Linked DNA regions of Homo sapiens: region 2 is linked to region 1. Evidence: promoter capture Hi-C in human tissues and cell types (Jung and others, 2019). All regions are on one chromosome and are shown on one strand. The core of a region is centred on a gene start or on the middle of the fragment in contact, and the rest is flanking DNA. Distances in the headings are between cores, read along the strand shown.

Evidence for each region. Contacts are between HindIII fragments. The study calls those that stand out against the background at their distance.
Region 2: a fragment that was not itself captured here is called in contact with the fragment with the promoter of CCKBR in region 1 in 5 of the 25 tissues and cell types used here (H1 embryonic stem cells, hippocampus, neural progenitor cells and 2 more).

What each region holds. Positions count from the first base shown.
Region 1 is chr11:6,258,465-6,261,272 of GRCh38, forward strand. It overlaps CCKBR (cholecystokinin B receptor), which reads left to right and starts at 1,374. Exons shown (of 5, transcript NM_176875.4): 1 at 1,374-1,615. The coding sequence starts at 1,465. The HindIII fragment of the contact is 2,957 bases long and covers 1-2,514 here.
Region 2 is chr11:6,347,713-6,350,520 of GRCh38, forward strand. No RefSeq gene overlaps it. Among named protein-coding and RNA genes, the nearest start is that of CAVIN3, 29 kb to the left of the region's middle. The HindIII fragment of the contact is 9,857 bases long and covers 1-2,808 here.

The DNA.
Region 1 (2,808 bases), core at 124-2,623:
GATAAGGGCCTGCTGAATCCCCCATAAAGCCAGACTCCATTCTCTAATTTGCTCTTCCACTGATGCCCGCCCCCAACCTCTTACAGCTACTGCTGGGGGTCAGAAGAATTTCACATCGTATTGGAGTTCATCCGGAATCTGAAGAATGGATAGGAATCTGGAGATAGGAATCTGGAGATAGGAATCTGGGGAAGAAAAGGAATGGATAGGAGAATGCATAGGGAGCAGGGCTGAAATAGTAGAAGAGGCAAATCCTGCCCCGAGAAGCTGAACCCAGTTCAGTCCTGCACCCTTCAGCCCTGTTCCCGCTGCACCGCAGTGACCCAGTCCCCTTCTAGCCCCCTCTCGTGGGAACCTGACACCCTACACAGGCAGCTCTGCCTGCACTGAGAGCAAACAGGGAGCGTTAGCGTGTCGGGTGGGCGTGGGCGCTGCCTGGAGACGGTGGAGAAAGCCAACCTTCTCCTTCTCTTTTGCCTGCGCTGGGCCGGCGTTAGAATTATATCCCATCCTCACCTTACTCTGGTTTATCCTTGTCAGTGCTTGCCACCACCCCCAACTGCCCTCAACACTCAAGTCAGAAGCTTCCTCCCGGGAGCCCTTTTCCCTGGCAAGGCTTCCCTGGAGCCAAATCTCGGCCCCGGCCCCACCCCCACTCCCGCCCAGCTGTGGAGGGCTCCTTGGGACCCTTAAGTGCAAGCCTGAGTGTTAAGCCTCAGACAGGAGATGGAGGGTGCGGAGACAGATGCAGGAGCTACCCCAGGCCCGCAGCGAGGAGCTGCAGGGAACTACGGTAGCAATAGTGTCACGGTCACTGCGGCCACTGCAACACAGTACGGTAAATGCGGCTCTAGGCTCAGACTAAAGCATCCGCGCCTCAGCAGGTGACGCACGCAGACCTGGTCTCCAACGCCACCTCCACGTTCCCTGATACACCAGAGAAAGATGCTGGATCCGTGGCAGCCGTCTCTACCCAACCCCTCCTACCCTCCCTTCCCCGAAACCTCCCCCTACGCTGCCAATACTCTTGTCTTCAATCTCTCTCTCTCTCTCTCTCTCTCTCTCTCTCTCTCTCTCTCTCTCTCATTCCTGGGAATCGGGGGTGGGGGCGGGTGATAAAGAGAGGTGGGCAGGAGAGAAATCTCTAAGAGGAGACGGGACACATCTAGGGAGGGGGCGAGCCTGGAGGACAGTCGCACAGGGAGGGGCAGAACTCCCGAGCCAGGGAGGGGGTGCACAGTCACCTGGCGGGACAGAGGCTGGCGGAGGGACGGGAACCCAGGCGGGGCGAGCCGCGGGAGAGTGGAGGGCAGGCGCCTGGGCTGGGGGCGGGGACCAGGCGGGGCAGGGGGCAGGGAGAGGAGGGCGGCGGGAGCCTGAGCCGGAATCGCAGCGTGAGCAGGTGGAGCCGCGTTGGGAGCCCGCCGGGTCGAGCTGAGTAAGGCGGCGGGCTCGGCGGGGGCCATGGAGCTGCTAAAGCTGAACCGGAGCGTGCAGGGAACCGGACCCGGGCCGGGGGCTTCCCTGTGCCGCCCGGGGGCGCCTCTCCTCAACAGCAGCAGTGTGGGCAACCTCAGCTGCGAGCCCCCTCGCATTCGCGGAGCCGGGACACGAGGTGGGTGCCTCCCTCAGCCCCCCCCACAAGCTATTTCTCACTGTACCCCAGAACACTAATAGAGTCCCCCCAACGAGCTCCACACTACCTTCTCAAACGTCCACACCGTGCCTCTCATAGTACTCCCTCAGCCCCCAAACAGCTCCCCTCACACCTTCACCCCCACAGCCTACAACTTCATCACAGCTTCACACCACCTGGTCGGAACTCCTTCACATCCTGGTCCCCTGAATACACCTAGAGCCCCTGCTCACCCCAAAGCACAGCCCCTTCCCCAACACGCAGCCCCTCCTAGACACCAGTCAGAAGGCGAGGACCTCCTCTTGCCAACCCTGCAGATCTCCTTTTCCCTCTTACATCCAGTTCACAGAGCCACAACAGAGAAGGGAAGGAAGAAAGGAAGGCAGGACTGGGAAAAGAAGGGGGCTGGTTGAGGGAGGGAGCACTCTGGAAAGCTTGAATGCGAAGCTGAAGTTGTGATCACATCTGACACCCCAGCCCCCAGCCATCCCAAAAAAGATCCTCAAATCTGAATTAGGCTGGACACTAGGGGATGCTCCTTAGAGCTGCCTGCCTCCATTTCACTCCTTCTCAAACCCCTCTGCCTCCCTAGTTGGAGCTTTCGAGGCTCTGTGCCCTCTCTCTTTGTCTGCAAGTAATGTCTCCAGCTATCTTCCAAGCTCTCTCTCCAGCCCTAGGCTAGGTGCTGGGGGCACAGGGCAAACTAGACCCAGTCTGGACCCTCATGGCCCATAGCCAAGTGCAGAGAGAAACCAAGCAAATGGAAAAATCACAGACACAATGGAAGTCCCATGAAAGGGTCTAAACTGTGGGCACCAAAAGAACTTCACAGAGGCTAGAACCTTAGAGCTGGGTCTTGAAGTTGAGTAGGCAGAAAAGGAAGGAGTGGGATTCTAGGTGAAGGAGCAATGTTAAGCAGAAGGAAATTTTTCTAAACTCAAAAAGGGAAAGTTGGAATAAATTGTAATCCAAGTATTTATTTACCCCACGAAATAATCTATGCTTTCTCAGCCGAGTTGTTACACACTCACACTTGGATTCTGTCATTCAGCCAATATTTATTGAACCAGAGATTGTGCTAGGCAGTGGGAATGTAAGTTGAACAAAACCGACACAATTCCTACTTCACAGAGCTCAAAGTTTAATGGGCGAGACAGAAAAGCAGGGGATTG
Region 2 (2,808 bases), core at 145-2,644, 89 kb after region 1:
CATTGAGAGCGAAGAAAAGCACTTTTCTCCAGTCGTAGTCAAGGTTAACCATCCTAATGGATAAAGAAAATGTGGGATATATTCAGCCCTTATAAAGAAGGAAATCCTTTCATTTGTGACAATATGGAGAAACCTGGAAAACATTATGTGAAGTAAAACAAGCCAGACACAGAAGGACAAATATTGCATGATTTCAGAAATATGTGGAATCTTTAAAAAGTCAAACTTATAGAAGCAGAGAGTAGAATAGAAGTTACCAGTAGCTGCGGCCAGGCGCGGTGGCTCACGCCTGTAATCCCAGCACTTTGAGAGGCCGAGGTGGGCGGATCACGAGGTCAGGAGATCCAGACCATCCTGGCTAACACAGTGAAACCCCGCCTCTACTAAAAATACAAAAAATTAGCCGGTCGTGGTGGCGGGCGCCTGTAGTCCCAGCTACTCGGGAGGCTGAGGCAGGAGAATGGCATGAACCCGGGAGGCGGAGCTTGCAGTGAGCCGAGATCGCGCCACTGCACTCCAGCCTGGGCGACGGAGCCAGACTCCGTTTCAACAAAAAAAAAAAAAAAAAAAAAAAAAAAGTAGTTACCAGTAGCTGGGGCTGGGGGTTGGGGTGCTGGGCGAGTAGGGAGATTGGGGAGACGTTGATCAAAAGGCACAAAAGTTTCCTCCAGTTAGACAGGAAGAATCAGCTCAGAAGATTTACTGTACAATACGATGACCATAGTTAATAACAATGTATTATACATTTGAAAATTGCTAAGAGTAGATTATGCTTTCTCACCACAGAAAAAATGTGTAAGTATTTGAGGTAATTGATATGTTAATTGGCTCAATTTAACCATTCTACAGTGTATTCATATATCAAAACATGTACACTAAAAAATCTATACCATTTATATTAGTCAACTTAAAAATTAATTTTTTAAAAAGATTAATTATCCTAGATAACAGCAGGACATCTTTTTTCCGTTTCTGCACATGGCATGAGAAATGTGACATGACCAGTTTCCAATTTCCAATGTAATGGGATCATCATTACAGGCACCTAGTGAAAATATCTCTCACTTTGTTTTTGGTTTTGTTGTTTTGTTTTGTTTTTGTTTTACTTTGAACACTAAGATGCTAAATACTTTGGTAGTAAAAGAATCTTGGTTAGAGAAAGACAGCATTTTGAGAATGGTTATTGAAGTATAATTATGAGTGGTGATGCTCCCATCTCCAACTCTTAATCCCTGGGCCTATGTGTTCTGACTTGGAGACATGAATATATGAATCTGGCAGAGAGCATAAATCACCAACAGCAAGACAAGATGCCTAACTCACAAGCAATTGTCCCCCAGCTAGGGTCAAAGCTGAACATTCATTTCTCTATAATGCCAGCAACTTCTGTCTGATAGGGTCTATATTAGCTTTCTAGAGCTGCTATAAGAAAGTGCCACAAAATTAGTGATTTAAAACAACAGAAACATATTCATTTGTTATCTTATGGTTCTAGAAGCTAGAAGCCCAAGGTCTCAGCAGGGCACTCTCAGAAGGCTCTGGAGAGGATCATTCTTTGCCTCTGGTAGCTCCCAGCAATCCTTGTCATTCCTTGGCGTGTAACTGCACCACTTCAATCTCTGTCTTCATTTTCACAGGTCCTTCTTTCCTCTGTATCCAAGAGTTTTCAAATCTTTCTCTCCTTATAGAGACACCAATCATTGAGTTTAGGGTCCTCCCTAATCCAGTCTGACCTTATCTTAATTTAATTACACATGCAAAGACCCTATTTTTAAATAAGGTCCTCTTCAAAGGTACCGGAGTTAGGACTTCAACATATCTTTTTGAAGAACACAGTTCAATCCACTGTAGGTCCCATAATGAAATCAATGAATGGCATGGACATTGGTTCTTTGCCTTACTTCTTTTTCTATGAAAAATTTCTTGACAGAGCTGTGATACATTAACTGTAAAAATGGACCCTGGCCGGGTGCTGTGGCTCACGCCTGTAATCCCAGCACTTTGGGAGGCTGAGGTGGGCGGATCAGAAGGTCAGGAGATCCAGACATTCCTGGCTAACACAGTGAAACCCCATCTCTACTAAAAATACAAAAAAAGGTCAGGAGATCCAGACATTCCTGGCTAACACAGTGAAACCCCATCTCTACTAAAAATACAAAAAAAAAATAGCCAGGCGTGGTGGCGAGCACCTGTAGTCCCAGCTACGCTGGAGGCTGAGGCAGGAGAATGGTGAGAACCCGGGAGGCGGAGCTTGCAGTGAGCTGAGATCGCTCCACTGCACTCCAACCTGGGCAACAGAGCAAGACTCAGTCTCAAAAAAAAAAAAAAAAAGACCCTATGCTTCCCCTGCCTCCCTGTATCCATACTTTTTGAAATGTGACTTTTCAATCCTTCCATCAAGAAAGTCTGTTTCCTCACACACTGAATCTAGACTGGCCTTATGGTTTGCTTTGGCCAATAGAATGCAGCAGAAGTGTCATCATACTATTTCTGAATGTATGCTTCAAACTTCTGGTCTCTCTTTTGGAAACCTGACCCTGCCATGTAAATAACACCAGGGTAACTTGATGCTTGATGAGACACATGTCCCAGTCTCCCATGTCACCCAGCCATCAGCCAGCCAACCACCAGACATGTGAGTGAGGCCATCCTAGACCAGTCAACCTGCAGCTGATCAACATGGTGACCCACAGATTCATGGGCAATAATATATGGTTACTGTTTTAAGCCACTATGTTTTGGGATGGCTTGTTATGCAGCATTAAATAACTGATAACAAGATATAACAGTATATATGACTCCATGACA